Linked DNA regions of Homo sapiens: region 2 is linked to region 1. Evidence: promoter capture Hi-C in human tissues and cell types (Jung and others, 2019). All regions are on one chromosome and are shown on one strand. Each heading gives the region's core, a stretch centred on a gene start or on the middle of the fragment in contact. The rest is flanking DNA. Distances are from core to core; before and after follow the strand shown. Region 1 holds the start of NRXN2 (neurexin 2). Region 2 holds the start of SLC22A12 (solute carrier family 22 member 12).

The links. The method cuts DNA at HindIII sites, captures the fragments that hold promoters and counts their contacts. A contact is called where the count stands out against the background at its distance.
Region 2: the fragment with the promoter of SLC22A12 here is called in contact with the fragment with the promoter of NRXN2 in region 1 in 5 of the 25 tissues and cell types used here (IMR-90 fibroblasts, dorsolateral prefrontal cortex, lymphoblastoid cells and 2 more).

Annotation. Positions count from the first base shown.
Region 1 is chr11:64,718,679-64,726,535 of GRCh38, reverse strand. NRXN2 (neurexin 2) reads left to right here and starts at 3,339. Exons shown (of 23, transcript NM_015080.4): 1 at 3,339-3,565. RefSeq lists enhancers at 401-1,239, 2,449-2,498 and silencers at 2,879-3,178, 3,165-3,459. The HindIII fragment of the contact is 11,757 bases long and covers 1-5,522 here.
Region 2 is chr11:64,585,252-64,593,108 of GRCh38, reverse strand. It overlaps SLC22A12 (solute carrier family 22 member 12), which reads right to left and starts at 1,889. Exons shown (of 10, transcript NM_144585.4): 1 at 1,151-1,889; 2 at 227-330. The coding sequence starts at 1,552. The HindIII fragment of the contact is 41,401 bases long and covers 1-5,598 here.

The DNA of each region.
Region 1 (7,857 bases), core at 2,090-4,589:
GAGGGAGAGGGGCAGCACAGAGTTGCTGGCTGTCGGGGAAGGGAGGGAGGGCCCTGGGCAGTCCGAGGGCCCTGCTGGGCTTGTGCCTCAGGGTGGGGGCTGCACTCCTCCGCCTTGCAGCCTCCTGGCCTGGTGCTGCTGCCAGCCGGAAGGACAGTGACTTCCAGAGGAAATGCATATTGATCCTGCTTTCAGCCTCCGGTGGTGGCTTCTCCCAACCCAGCTCTTCCCTCCTGAGCCTGCAGCACGGAGGTTTTGGGGGTCACTGCTACCTAAAGAAGGCTAAGGCCACTTCTGAGGCTGGTCTGGGAGTTTACTAAAGGTTCTGAAGCTGGGCCGGGCTGCCCCTGGGATCAGGAGACTCCAGACAGCAGTCCTGACAATGGGAACTACCTCCTCAGTCCCCCAAACTGGGAGGTGTCCCACAGCAGCTGTAGGATTGTCCTAGGGGTGGAGACCTGAGCACCTTCCACTCCAAAGCACAGTATCTGTGGGCCTGGCAGTGGCCTCAGTTCCCCCATGAGTGCCCCGGTCCCCCACCCCAGGGTTTCCCCACATCACATCCATCCCTGCTTTGAGACCCCACTCCCCCTGGCCTGTTCTTTATTTTGGGTCACTCCCTTCTCTTTCCTGGTCATATCTCTCCTGCAGGCCTACCCTGTGTTGGGCCCCCCAGCCCTGTCTCTGCATCGGGTGCCCCCCTGCCCCTCCTTCTGTCCTCAGCCCCCTCCGCCCTTCCCCCTCTTGAGGCTGTAATATCCGTTTCACGATTTGGGGGCTGAGTTGCTATAACAACAGACGGCGATTGTGTTGTGAAGAGCAGCTCGCTCCTGTGCCGCCTGCCTCCTGTGCTGCCTCCATCCCTGCAGCCCAGTCGGTTCCTCTTGGCTCCTCTCGTCACTACCCTCCAGTTCCAGTCTGGCCTCTTCCTGGTGTGTGTGTGTGTGTGTGTGTGTGTGTGTGTGTGTGTGTGTATGCATGCATGCATATGTGTGTCCAGGTCTGCCTGCCCGGGATGTGACAAGTAGCGGTCTTCATGGTTGCATGTGTCTGAATTTGGTGTCTGAGCTTCACATTGTATGCGCCTGTGTGCATGTGTGTGCATGGACATGCATGCTGTATCTGCTGTGTTTCCCCTCCCCCATGTGTCCCCACTGGCCTTTGCACATGGGAGAAGGGCATGTGCTCAGCATATCACTCAACTGTCCACATTGGGTGGGTACCTGTGTGTGGTGTGTGTGTGTGTGGGGTGTGTCTTGAAGTGGCAGGTCCCAAATGCTTAGGCAATCTGAACCTTGGACCTTGCAGAGAGGAGAGATGTCCCTGTAGGTGGGAGGGACAGGGAGATGCAGCAGCTGCCCGGTGACCTTTTCTGCCCTTGATGGGCAAAGCTGGGGGTAGGGAAAGGAGACAAGTGCTCATACTTACCTCCCTCCCTGCCCAGGCTCCTCTGTAAGGGTCTGAGTCTGTCTCTGTGAGCCATTGCATCTGTCTGTCTATGCCCTGATGCCTGGATGGACAAGGGGTGTGTGTGTGTGTGTGTGTGTGTGTGAGTGTGAGGAGGCTGCAGGAAGAGGAACAGTGGGGGATGGGCAGGAAAGTGGGCTGTGGGGTCAGGGAGGCGATTTCGCATTCATAGGCCCTGACGCAGCAGTTCCATTCTCTGGCTCCTTCATTGGCTTTGGTGGGGATGCCCTGGGGGTCTCTCCAAGGTCAGAGTGGGCCCTAAGTCTGGGACCTGGCTTAGGGATCACCCTTCTCGACTCCTAGGAAAAACTCCTTGCAGCCTGGGTCCCCCTCTTACCCCTTCACAGGCTGGGGAAGGAGTTTCCCACCCGGGGGGTTGGTGTCCGCATTAAGCCACTCAGTAATTGACCACTCTCTTTGAAGTGCCTGGGCAGGGGTCCAGGATGACTGTGGGCAGGTCCCCTGGGTGCAGCTGTTCTGGGCATGCATTAATTGCCTGGTGTAGGTACCTGTGTGCACAAGTGTGTGTGTTCTTGGGCAGTATATGCTTCCTGTGGGTGTGTTACCATGGTGGGGCATTTCTGCAGGTGTTCTTATGTGTCTCTGGGAATGCCCAGTGTTCACAGATATGTGTGCATGGCTGTGAGTGCCCCAATGTCCATGCATTGGTGGTTGAATGTAAGTGTTCTTGCATGTTGCCTCTGGCTAAGGAAGTGCCAACTACCACCAGCTGTGCAGATCACAGACCCTGCAACAGAAACCAGGGTCCTGGAGTGAGCTGGCAGAATGGTCTGGCACACATACACACACACACTCTGTCTCTCACTGTCTCATTCAGCAGCCCAGTGACCAACCTCGGGGTATACACACTAAGTGCCAGTGTGTGTACACTTTTATTGGCGGAGTGAGTGAAGGGTGTCCCCCAGTCCCCCACACTCATACACATGCACAGTGATGCATGTACCCTTACAGGAGAGACCTGCGCCCCCCAGCACCACTCTAACTGAAACTCATGGATGGGAGGAGGAGAACAGAGAAGGGGGCTGCTGCCAGGTGCCCTCAGTCACCAGGCATGTGCAGGCGCAACCCTGCCCCCACACCTACTCGTACCTCGGTCCAGGGTTCCAGGCAGAACTGAGAGTTTGGCCTCAAACTCTGGGATTCCCATGAGGCAGGACTGGGAAACCCCCAAGTTCCTAGGTCTACCCCGCCCCCATCTCTGCCTTTCCTTCCCCCACCGCCTCCGTCTTTATCCCAGCAAAGCCCCTTCCTCTTCAGTTCTGGGGGCTCCAAGCCAGGGGCCCTCCGGACGGTGGGAGGTGGGGGCCAGGCTACCGACTGGAAAAAGCCCCCAGCAGCCATGGACCCACCGAGTCCCCCTTCTCTAGGCTCCTCGAAGCCCGGGCCCGCCCCTGGGGGTAGCCAGCAGAGGGCGCTGCGGCCCAGGCCCCGCATCAGCCCTGCTCTCGCGGCGTCCCAAGTCGGGGTCCACAGCCTCTCCTTCGGCTTGTCCCAGCCCCGCGCTGCGCGAAGACCTGCTGGCCGTGGGGGGAGGGTGCGGGACCCAAGGCCCCGAACTAAGGGGCGAGGGGCGAGGGGCGAGAGTGCTTGGGTTCCCGGAAAAGACACTGAGGCCGGGTTTGGGGCCCGCCTGGTTGGGGGCCCGGGCGCCCGAGAACCTCGAGAGGCTGGGAGGAGCGCGGGTGCTGGGGCCGGGACGCCTGGGTCCCGCGCGAGGGAGGGAGTGGGCCTGTGGAGCCGCTGGACTGGCGGCTTCTGAGCCCTTGCATTGGCTGCGCTGCTCGCCCGTCAGCGCAGCGTGGTCCAATGCGCGCGTCTCGGGGGCGGGCACTGGTGCTGATGCTGCCGTCAGTCGGTGTTGCAGGGATGCGGCGGCGGGAGCAGCCGCCCTGACTCGCGGAGCATCCTCCTCGGAGAGGCACCGCGGCGGGGCGGGCGGGCGGGCGGGGACGCGGCGGGGAGGGAGAGAGGCGCGAGGCGGCAGACACCGCTAGCCCTGGCTCTGCCACCCGTCGGAGACGGGGCGGCCCTGTAGCTCTGCTACCCACCCTCCAGCTTCTGGCGCCCCGAGAACCAGGTAAAATGGGGGGGGGGGGGCGCTGCGGCGGAGACGGGCGGGGGGCGGGAGCCGATCGGGGGAGGGGAGCGGATCGGAGGGGGCGAGGGAGGCAGGACGGATGAATTGGGGGGCGGGGGCGCCGCGCTGAGAGGGCTGGCCCGGTGACAGCGAGGAGGCAAAGCCGCTGGGGGCTTGGGGGTCGGAGGCTCCTGTGGAAGGGGCACTGGCCCTGAGAGCTGAGGAGAATGGGGAGGGGTGGGAGGAAGGGTCTTTGGGGGAAGGGATGGAGAGAGGAGGGGCATCCAGAGGACTTAGAGGGGGTTCTTAAAGGGGGGTCCCCAGTCTGTGCTAGCCCCAGAGGCTTGAAGCAGCGCCGGGCCAGAGGAGCTGTTGTGTTCTGGAGGGTCTAACCAGCGAGAAACTGGGCTTCGTGGGAGGAGAGGAGAGGGGGCTGGAGAAGAGAGAGAAGTGGAGAGGGAAGGAAAGGGGCCAGGCCAAGGGCTTCGTCCTGAGGGGACCCACTGAGGACCAGGCTTTCCTGGGGGATGGGAGCCAAGGGGAGAAGAGGTTATTGGGAGAGAGCAGAGGGGAATGTGCCAAGGTGCTCCAGGCAGAGATGGGTCTGTGCTGGTGGAGAGCTGGGAAAGATGGGGTCTGAGGGAGAGGAGCGGAAGCTTGCGGGGGAAGGCTGGGGGTGATGAGACAGGGAGACTGGGAAATCAGTAGGAGGGGGCTTTGCTGGGGTGGGAATGCGCTGGGGGCGGTGACAGGGTTCTGGTCAGAGAGTGCTGCAGGGGGAGAGGAAGCTGCAGGGCCCTTGGCTTGCTCCCCCACCCCTAAAGAGGAAGGGACCATTTCTCATGTCCCAGCCTCCTCCCCCAGCTGAAGCAGCAATCTTCCCTGGGGTCTTTGGGTTGGGGTATGAGCCCTTGAACCCTTGATGGGCTTTTGGGGCACAATTGGCTTTGGGGTGCTGTTGTCTCCTTTACTCTCACCCCCCTCCTGAATCTTGGGAGAGGGCATTCGATGCCTCATTGAGCTAGCAAGGGCTGGGAGGGGCTTTTTCTTGGTGTCTGGAGGTGAAGGAGGAGGCTGTCCACCTGGAATAATGAAATAGATTTTTAGGGGGTGGGTCTTGGGTCCCCAGTCCCTTGGCTGCCCTGGGGGCTTCCAGATAGCCCTGTTTTTTCATGTGTTGGCGGGTGGGCGTCTCTCCTCTTCCATTCATTCTTATCCTTCCCTGTTGTCTACCTTCCCAGTGTCTGGGTGTTCCTTTTGGAGGAGGGTGGACATTAGGGTCTTACTTTCTCTGTCTTCTGCCAGAGAAGGAGAAAGAAAGAAGGGAGAGGGAAGGAGAAGGGGAGGGAGGTCTGCAGTCTGCTAACTGTGAGGCCTTCTGTTTTGTGGGTGCTTCAGCCCCTCAGTCCCTACCTCCTCTTGCTTCCAGGGATGGCTCTAGGGATGCTGGCATCTGAGGTGTGGCTGGATCTTTTGGGAGACAGGGGAGAAGGGTCTGGCTGGGGGCTCTTCATTCATGCTAGAGGAAGTGTTCTCAGACCCATCCTATCCTCAGATCCACAGGGGTGGGCGGGATGGACCAACCAGCCACGGCTGCCGGGCAGTTCTTTCCAGCCCAGGCCTGGGCTGAATCCATATGACATTGGAGTTCTGAGAGGAGGGGCTGGGTGCGCGAGTGGCTGGTGGGGACCCCTCTTTCCTTCCAGGCTCAGTCACTACCCAGGTCCAGCTGCTCCCTCCCGCTTACCCTTGCCAGTGACACAGACACTCTGACAATGATACACGCGCTCGGTGGCACCCACCCAGACACACACCTACACAGGCACACACACCTGCGTACACAATACACCTCCTGGCAGCATACAGCCCACACTCCCCACCCAGAGAGGCTGCCACCTCATGCCTGCCTCCTTGAGACCTCCCCCAGGTGCCTTGCTGCCATGTACACAACACACACACGGCCACTACGTGCCCCCAGAGCCCCCAGCGCAGCACTGCCAGCCCTCACCCTTGGATGCACACAGCCCCCATCCAACCACTCACCTCCCCAGGCTCACAGCCATCGCAGGCACACCTGTGCTTCTTCCTCATACACCTTCAGTCCTTGCAACACACCCTCTCCTTCCAGACACCCCATCCCTCCCAGGTCTACACAGCATGTGGGCACACCCTCCCAGACACACCAGTCCCTGCCCCCCAGCAAGCTCATCCTGAAGTACCATGTGCATGTCTGTCTGGGTGCTGAACACCTTGCCCCAGGCCTTTGTGTGTGTGCACGTGTGTGTGCACACCAGCACATGTTTGCTAACACACTTAATGCTGTGGCTCACCCCCTAAACCTCTCTTCTACTTTCTCTCTCTCTCACTCACTTATCTTTGTACCTTCGGCGCAGGGCCTCCTACCCCTCCTGGCCACAACCACGACCCTTCCCAGTGGAGTCCAGCCCCCACCTACACCTGGTTTCCCTGGGAGCCTTCCCATTTCTAAGTGGCCCCACCCCCCGCATTAATCCTCAGGCACAAGGGCCCCTACACCTGCCTGTGCACTGGAGACACTGTCCTTTCATTCGCAGCTCCCAAGCCCAGCCCCCACGGGGATGCCCCGATTGTGTGTCCTCACACGCCACCCACCTTGCTGCTCCATCTGTTGGTGCAGCTCCCTCGCCCCTGCCCCTTCCACACTGATGGGCCTGTGGGCTCTCGGAGACTCATTCAACAAATAGTCTGGTGCACACTTTCAAGGATGTGTGTGGCACCTTGTTATTTACGAAGCTGCTTCCCCACTGCCACCACCACTGTTTGGCATGGTGGGGTGAGGGTGAAGGTGGGACTCCGCTGTGCTCCTCAGTGAGCCTCAGTTTCCTCACGTGTGAAATGGGATCCTCATCCCTACCTAGTGGGATGTTATGAGGACTCACTGAGAGGACAATGATGGCAATGATAGTAGTAACAAGCATGTTTATTGTGTACCTACTGTGTGCCTGGCCTTGTGCGAAGCACTCTGTAAACCTTACTTTGAGGTATTTGTAAGACACATAGAAGGTCCCCGTAAATGGTAGCTATTTTTATTGTCATTATCATAACCTTCCCTGCACGCACACACACGCGCACACACCTGTCATAGATACCTTTAGGAACATTCCCAGGCACCTCATGCTTACTCACAAGGCCGCCCCTGGAAGCCATCTGTCCCCCTCTGCATCACTGGGGTGCACCCGCCCAGGCTGCTGTGCCCCAGCTGTGCACAGCATAGGTAAGCTTGGTGCTCATCCCTCCCACCACCTACCTCCATGCTCCCATGCACCTGTCCTCCGGCCCCCACTCCACCAAGTCATTCCATTGCACCTCTGTCCCCAGCCCACCCGCTTCCCCAGCTCCATGAGGCGGCAGCAGCCTCATCCTGTGCACCCCGAGCTACCAGCTCCTGGGCCCAGCCCGCTCCATGCTTCTCTCCATGACACAGAGAGCTGCTTGGCGACCTGCAGACATGGCCGCTCATGCCCAGCCCACCCTGGCATGGGACTCCGACTTATCTTTAGACCTGTTTGTTCCTTCTACTGCCCTCTGAGTCAGGACAATTGACCAGCAGAGTTGAGGAGGACACGAGGGATAGGGATTAGACAGAACCAAATCTGAATCCCAGCTCTGCCATTTATGATTTGTGGGACCTTGGGTGGGTCCCTTCTCCCCTTTGAGTATCTATTTCCTCATCTGTAAAAGGGGCAGTGATAATACTTGTCTTGCTTACTTTTCTCACCAAGCCCTGGTGAGGATCAGAGGAAACACTAGGCACTCGGTACTGCAAACTGTAAAAGGCCGAGATGAGAAGTTTTAAAAAAATCATTAATACGACACACTTTTTTTTCACACGTTAGTCTATGCCAGGCAGTGTACTAGGAGCTTTATGTATGTTAATTCTAATTTTGACAACACTATTATTATCTCTATTTTATACATAAAGAAAGTGAAGCACAGAGAGGCTGAGTAACTTACCAAAGGTCACACAGCTGGATAGGGGTAGAGCTGGCATTTGAACCCAGGCTTCAGAGCCAGTGCCTCTAACCACTGTGCTGTCTTGTTTTTGCTGCTGCTGAGGTTGTGGCTGGGTGTGGAAAGGCATGGGGTCTTCCCTTTTTTCTGCCAGATCATCACGGCTGGAAGGAAGGGGGAGGTAGGAACTGTTCACCGTCTGCCAATCTTGCCTGGAATTTCACGGGGGAAAGGGGACCCTCCAAAAAACATTCTGCACCTGAAAAGGACCTCAGGGGTCAAGCAGTCTGCTGTCCTCTTCC
Region 2 (7,857 bases), core at 640-3,139, 130 kb after region 1:
CCTCTACAACCCCCAGAGTAAAGTTGGTGAACTCGAGGTTCAGAGAAGGTTCCAGACCTCCCTACCTGGCACGGCTGCAGGGTGGCTGGTCCGAGACCCACACCCAGCAAGTAGGGCGCTTTCTAGACTTGGTTTTGTGAGGCTGGTTTGGGGCCAGTCGGCCAGGGTCCTAGGAGAGCAGGGGTTGTGAGGGGAACTGGGACCTGCCTGGACTGGGGGTACTCACCTGTCTGAGGCAGGGCCGCACGCAGCAGCTCCCACCAGAATCCCAGCCAGGTAGATGGACTGGGCCATGGGCTTCAGAGCATGAGAGTCACACACGAGGTTCCACTGATGGGAGAGGAGGAGGCTGAGCTCAGGAGGTTGGGAGAGCCCCAGCAGAGAGGCAGAGGAACCGCATGGGAGGGCCCCCAGGGAGCTGGGTGCGGTGGGTGGTCTGGTGACCTCTAGGGTTTTAGAGCAAGACCCTGTGGAACAGTGAGGGCACCCACAGGCATAGTTTGGCCTTTTGAGGAGTATATCCTGCCACCCTCTGCCTGAACTCTTCCATGGCTCCCTATTGCCCAATGGGTCTCTAGCCACATCTGCCCCTCTCTCCTGTCTCTCCACTTGGAAGCAGCCACCCAAGCTGACACCCTCACCCCTCTCCCAGAGGTTGCTTCCCTCCTGTTCTTTATAAAGAGGTTCTTCCCACTTGTTGGGATGAGCTGCCCCTCTCTGCTTGCCTGGCTTTGCCTGGCGCCCCATCTGGGAGGCAGCCTGGGGTAATCCCTTACTCTGTGTGCTTTGGTCTCGGGGAATCCAGTGAATTGTCACTGAGTCCCCCTGCTGCTGAGTTGCCTGGAGTCACGGCTGACAGGTCAGCAGGGCCAGGACAGGGTGAGGCCGGTGAGTGTCCAGGTGCCAGCATTTAGAGGTGCCCGCCCAGGTGCCCCCCGCACCTCCAAGAGCCTGGGCTGGCCCCATTTGTAGACTGATCCCTGCCGCCCACTTCCCTGTGTGTGGCTGACGAGGGGCTGAGAGGCTCGAGAGTGAGTGGGGCCTGGGGAGGTGGGTCCCTCCCAGGACTGGACCTTTGAGTCTGACCCACCGTGATCCATGACTGACCTCCAAGGTGGTGGGACTCGAGTGGCTCTGGGGGAGGCCCTACCTTGGCCACGATTGTGGAGGTGAAGATGCTGCGGTCATAGACCCAGCCATCCACACACGGCTCCGTGTCGGCCTCGCTCCAGCTGGTGGCCGTGGCATTGGGGTCCAAGAGCTGCCACTGTGGCTGGCGGAAGCGGCGGCACTGGTGGGGCCTCTGGTTGGGGCCCGGCGGGATGGAAATAGCCAGGAGGGCCTCAGGACTCAAGCTCCCTAGGATGCTGGCCTGAGCCGTGCTGTTGTCCAGGAGGGGTGCCCAGCAGCGGTGGCTGGGCACGGCGGCCGAGAAGTTCTCCAGCATGCTCTGGGTACACAGCCACATGATGGAGACCATCAGAGCCATCGTCTGGAGAACCTGGAACCTGCCCAGGCCACCCACGAGGTCCAGGAGTTCAGAAAATGCCATGGAACCTACTCAAGGGGCCCAGAAGAGGGGCCCACTTCACAAAGGCTGGCCCAGGGCAAAGAGGCCAGGGCAACGGGCCTGTTTCCCCCACGGTGGTGCCCACAGTGGCTTCTCCAGCCCAGCGGCTAGGCTTCACAGACTCGGGGCCGGAGGCTCAGGCTCTCTGGTCATCTGCCTGCTGGTGTCACTTGGGGTGGCTCCAACTGGGCCCTGAGGCCGCGTGAGGTGATTCCGAGACCTCCAGCATCTCCCCAGAGAGGCAGCTGCTCCAGACCTCCCGGGAAAGCTGAATTTGGAAAGTAGGGAATGTGGAGACTGAAGACTTTAATTTTAGACTGGAATTAAAGTGTGACCGGTGACACTTATGGAATCGAGTTTAGCAATCATTTCCTTGGTCAAAGTTTAACCCGCGTTGAGGCAGGCACAGACGCGAGGGAGGTGCAGCCTCCTCTGCTTGGGGGCCAGGGCCGGCCTGCTCTGTGCCAGGTCTTGGGGAGGCCTAAGTTTTTCTCCTGGCGGCTGTGGGATGCCAGGGCTGCCTGCTCCCTTCGGTGCCCCTGTGTGCCCACCTCCCAGAGTGGCTGAGCCAAGAGAAGGTGGGCCAGGGGATCCCCCTAATTTGGGGCTGGGGCAGCTGTGCAAGTCTCTGTGTGGGCTTGGGTCACTGGCAGCTGCCCAGCCCCTGCGCCTCCCAGGCTGTGTGGCCTGGCCCCACCCGTGGCTCCTGCCTCCACTCACCTGCTGTGGTTGGCGTCCTGTGCCCGCTTTGCTGTTACCCTGTCCTGAGTCCTCGGTGGAGCTTCCCAGCATCAACAGACACCCCACAGACTCCCCAGGTTCGGTGTGCCCAATGCCACCCTGAGATCTCTGTCCCCTCCCCAAATCTATGCCTCCTGCAGAGCCCCACCTCAGCTATGGCCTCTCATGTCACAGTGTCTGGCCTGGAACCCAGCGTCTTGGTTCACGCCTCCTGCTCCCTGCCTCCCAAATCCACCAGGGGCCAAGCCTGGCTAGTTTTGCCTCCTAAGGATTTCTCTCTCCCACCTCCCCCACTCCACAGCTGTCCCTGCCCTTGTCTTTCTGCCTCAACTCCTGCCCCTGGACCCACCACGCACTGCGAGCCCTTGGGTCAAATCCTGCTTAAAAGCCAAGGGGCTCCCAGTCAACAACAGCTAGTGGTGACTTACTAGGGCAGGTGAGTGGACAGCAGTGTGTGCTGATGCAGGGTGTGGGGTTCAGGAAAGGCTGGACCGAGGCCAAGAGAACCCCCTTGGTCTCGATAGCTAATTCTGTAGGCGAAAGGGCCAGAGAACACAAAGCAGTTAAAAAGTGTGTGTGCATGGCCGGGCGTGGTGGCTCATGCCTGTAATCCCAGCACTTTGGGAGGCCGAGGTGGGGGGATCACTTGAGGTCAAGAGTTCAAGACCAGCTTGGCCAACATGGCAAAAACCCATCTCTACTAAAAATACAAAAGTTAGCTGAGCATGGTCGTGGTGCACAGCTGTAATTCCAGCTACTTGGGAGGCTGAGGCAGGAGAATCTCTTGAACCCAGGAGGCAGAGGTTGCAGCAAGCTGAGATTGCACCACTGCCCTCCAGCCTGGTTGACAGAGAAAGACTCTTATCTCAAAAAAAAAAAAAAAAAGAAAAGAAAAAAAAGAAGTGTATGTATATGTGGGTGTGTGCACATGTCTGTGTATGTGTGCACATGTGTTTGCACAAGTGCATGTGTGTACATGTGTGCATGCGTATATGTGCAGTGCAGCAGTGATGGCAACCCAGGTGTTTGCTCTTATGAGCTTTGGGCATAAAACTCTCCATTTGAGGCATAAATGCCCCTCCCATCTGCTTCTTTTTGCTTCACCGACTCTTCCCGCTGCCCCTCCACATGGCTTACCAAGCCAACTTCTTTGCCTCCCTGGGCTCTGCACCTTGAGTCATCCACTGCTTCCACCACATGCCCTGTACATGCTTTCTCAGTTCCCACCCTTGCTTATGTTGGACCTCCAGCCTGGAATGCTGTCTCCAGGCTCACCCTTAGGCCACATACTGTGTGGAATGGGCACAGTCCAAATACTCCTCCTCCAGCGGGCTCTCTTCACTTATTCCTGCCTACAACTAGGGCTCAGAGTTGTCAGTGGAATCTCATCTTTACACTGTCCTGCATTCTTCTCAAACTCCTGACCTCAGGTGATCTGCCTGCCTTGGCCTCCCAAAGTGGTGTGAGTTGCGGCACCCAGCCATGACCTGCATTCTTCTATTATGGTCCAGTTGGTCTTATTTCCAGTGAGCTCCTGGTAGTCTGGAACCCTTCTTTAGAGGCTCTTTGGAACTGATTTGGACAACAAATAAAGGTTCCATGGAGACTTGCTGAAGTGCATGGATGATTTTTTTAAAAATTTCATTTATTTTCTAATTATGAAATAATTTACACACTTCCTCAAAAATTCAGAACATATTGAAATGAAAATAAAGATCCCTCATATACTCATCAACCAGTGAGTTACACTACTGTTTACAGTTTGGTGTAAATATGTGCAGACTTTGTTTTAGTAACTGATATGTTTAGCTTCATCAGCTTGAGCTGCCAAATAAGCTTTACATTTCCTTTTGTAAAATCCAAAAGAAATACCTCTGCCTTTTAATTAGCGATTTTAACCTGTTCACATTTATTGTAATTATTGACATGTTTGGACTTACTGTATGTTTTCTTGTTTACCACATTTTCCCTTTAAATCTTGGTTTCCTTGTTCCTAATTTCTACTGAATCCATTAAGTTTTCTTGTTATATTCTTCTACTGTCTTGGTCTGTCAGTTGTACGTTTTATTTCTGTTACCCTTATATTTGAACACACAAACCAGGGGTTATTTGATACCATCTTCTCTCTTCAAACCTACCACCTTCTCTTCTATCCTCTCTCTCAATAGATGACCTTTTTTCTTATTTCACTAAAACAATAGAAGCCATCAGAAGCCAACAGTCTAATTCTCTCACCAGCTCACCTGCCTTGGTGCCCCCACATTCTGCCTTCCTTCCACCCAGTTTGGTTTCTCTCTCATCCATGCCAACCCCTCACTGTGTGCCTAGAGCCCACCCCCCTTTGCCTGCTCACATCTCTCTTTGGCATTTGTCTTTCCCTCGCTACTGGATAATTTCCACCAATGTACAAATATGCCATTTTTTTCTGTAGCCTTCCAAAAACTCCCCCTCCATTTGAGCCCCTCTTTCTTCTTAAGCGACTGCCCCACCTTTGCTTGTATTTACAACAAAATTCTATGAAAGTATTATTGACACTCATTTCCAGTTTCTGTCTTCCCATTTTTTTGTTTGTTTTTGGATTCATTCCCATCAAGGTTTTGCCCCTATCACTCTGCTGTCACCAATGACCTCCATGCTGCTAGATTCAATGACATTTTCAGTCCTCATCTTACTTGAGCCATCTGTCTCTGATCTCCATCTGAGAATACTTTCTTCCCTGGGCCTCCAGGACTCACTAGTTCTCAATCTTCTTGGTTGGGTTTTCCTCTTCTCCACACACTGTTAACATTGGAGGCCACTGAGCTCACTCCTTGGTCTTCTCTATATTCTCTATCATCTGGTCCATTCACATCTTTAGCCTGTACCTCTTCTTGGAATGCTAGATTTTGATCCAACTGCCTAATCTTAGGTGCTTAATAAACATCTCACACTTAGTGTGGCCAAAGCTGAGCTCTCCCAAAAAAATGCTTCTCATGCAGCTTTCTCCACTTTTTTTTTTTTAAGTTGAGTCAGAGTCTTGCTCTGTTGCCCAGGCTGGAGTGCAGTGGCGCCATCTTGGCCCATTGCAGTCTCCACTGCCCAGGTTCAAGCAATTCTCATGCCTCAGCCTCCTAAGTAGCTGGGTCTATAGGCATGTGCCACCATGCCCAGCTAATTTTTGTATTTTTAATATCGATGGGGTTTCACCATGTTGGCCAGGCTGGTCTCGAACTCCTGGCCTCAACTGATCTGCCCACCTCGGCCTCCCAAAGTACTGGGATTATAGGCATGAGCCACTGCACCCAGCCCCAAATCACCAGCATTTTAATTTCAGAATGTGTAATTTCCATTTCAGAATCCGTGTTTGGTTCTTCCTATAACTGCTTCTTCTTGTTTCCTAGTTTCCACTTCTTGTTTCATAGGTGGAATAATTTCCTTGATCTCTTAGTGGATATTACGAGTGTTTCTCTTGGGCCAGGCGTGGTGGCTCACGGCCGGAATCCCAGCACTTTGGGAGGCCGAGGCGAGTGGATCACTTGAGGTCAGGAGTTTGAGACCAGCCTGGCCAACATGGGGAAACCCTGCCTCTAGTAAAAATACAAAAATTAGCCAGAGGTGGTGGCACACACCTGTAATCCCAGCTACCAGGGTTGCTGAGGCAGGAGAATTGCTTGAATCCATGAGGCGGAGGTTGCAGTGGAGCCAAGATCACGCCACTGCACTCCAGCCTGGGTGACAGAGCAAGATTCTGTCTCAAAAAAAAAAAAAAAAAAAAAAGAAGAGTGTCTTTCTTCTTAATATCAATATTCATTTGTTGAGCTGAGTGTTGATAATGCACCAGCCACTGCTCTAGGCACAGGGATGCAGCGGTGAACAAACAAGATAATTCCCTGTTCTCATTGATATGTAGAAAGACATGCCAATGAGAGAGGAGAAACACATCAAGAAATAAATGAATATAGTGACAAGTAGTAATCATGCTGTGGAGAGAACAAGATAGCATAAGGGGCAGAGAGTAAGGATCATGTTGCCACTTTGGGTGGGGCAGTCAGGGAAGACTTCTCTGTGGAGGTGGCATTGAAAGAGACCCAAGTAGATGAGGGGACAAGACACACAGTTGACTGGGGAAAGAATATTGCAGGCAGAGGGAAGAGTATTATGCAAAGACCCTGGGGTGGGCATGTGATTTTATGCTCAAGAAGTAGGAAGGAGGCCAGTATGGTTGGGGAGAAGTGAGTGGGAAAAGTAGAGCAGTTTTGGGGCCAAAACATACACTTCCTTATAGGGTTTTGAGGAGAGAAGTGGCATGATCTGACTAATGTTTTTACAAATCTCCCTGGCTGCTGTGTGGAGAACAGACTGAAAATGGGACAAATATAGAAGAAGGGGTTCCCCCAGGAGGCTGTTGGGGTGGATCATGTGAGCAATGAGGGTCAGGGCTAGGGGATTAGGGCAGGTGGAGAGAAATGCTTGGGTTTGGGGCATATTGCTTTTCTTTGACTAAATACAGGGCCGAGGGTGAAGAAAAAGGATAAACTGATGATCAGGTGGGTGGTGGGTGGATGGTGGGCCATTTACAGAGAAGCAGAACACTCGGGGAGAAGCAAGTTTGATGGGAAAATAAATCTTTTTTTGTGTGATGATATTGACATGTCTATTAGCCATCCAGGTGGTGGCATCATGGAGCGACTTGGGAATAATTAGGGGATAAAAGGCATTTTAAGTCACAGGACTGGATAAGCTCACGTAGGGTGCAAGCTTTCATAGCAAAGAGATGACGTTTGTGATGGAGCCTTTGGTCTCTGATGTTGAGAGGTCAGTAAGAGGATGACCCAGCAAAAGAGCTGTGAAGGCAAAACCAGTGAGGCCTGGAAACCAGGACAGCAGGATGCCCCGGAAGCCAGAGTGAAAAGTATCTGACAGAGTCAATCAGCAATGTCACATCCTTGGCCGGGCGCGGTGGCTCACGCCTGTAATCCCAGCACTTTGGGAGGCTGAGGCAGGTGAATCACCTGAGGTCAGAAGTTCGAGACCAGCCTGGCCAACATGGTGAAACCCTGTCTCTACTAAAAATACAAAAAATTAGCCAGGCATGGTGGCACATGCCTGTAATCCCAGCTACTCAGGAGGCTGAGGCAGGAGAATTTCTTGGACCTGGGAGGCAGACGTTGTGGTGAGCCGAGATCACGTCATTGCACTCCAGCCTGGGCAACAAGAGTGAAACTCCATCTCAAAAACAAGGAAACAAAAAAGTCTCATCCTGCTGAGAGGTGGGGTGGGATAAGGTCTAGAATTAGCCCCTGGATTTGGCAGCATGGACTTCTCTGAGGGCCCTGGCTTGAGGGTTTACCGTGGAGGGGTGAGGTGAAGTGCACAGAGGCACAGGACTGTGAGAGTGCTGGAGGCAGGGAAGTGAAGTCGGTGAAGACAGGCAGCTCACCTACGGAGTTTCACTCTAAGGAGAAGCAGGAAAATGGGGATGTGGTTCGCATTAATTAGAGTAACGCTGGCTGCTGTGGCAAGCCAACCTCGAAATGTATAGCAGCTCAAACACAGTAGAAGTTTAT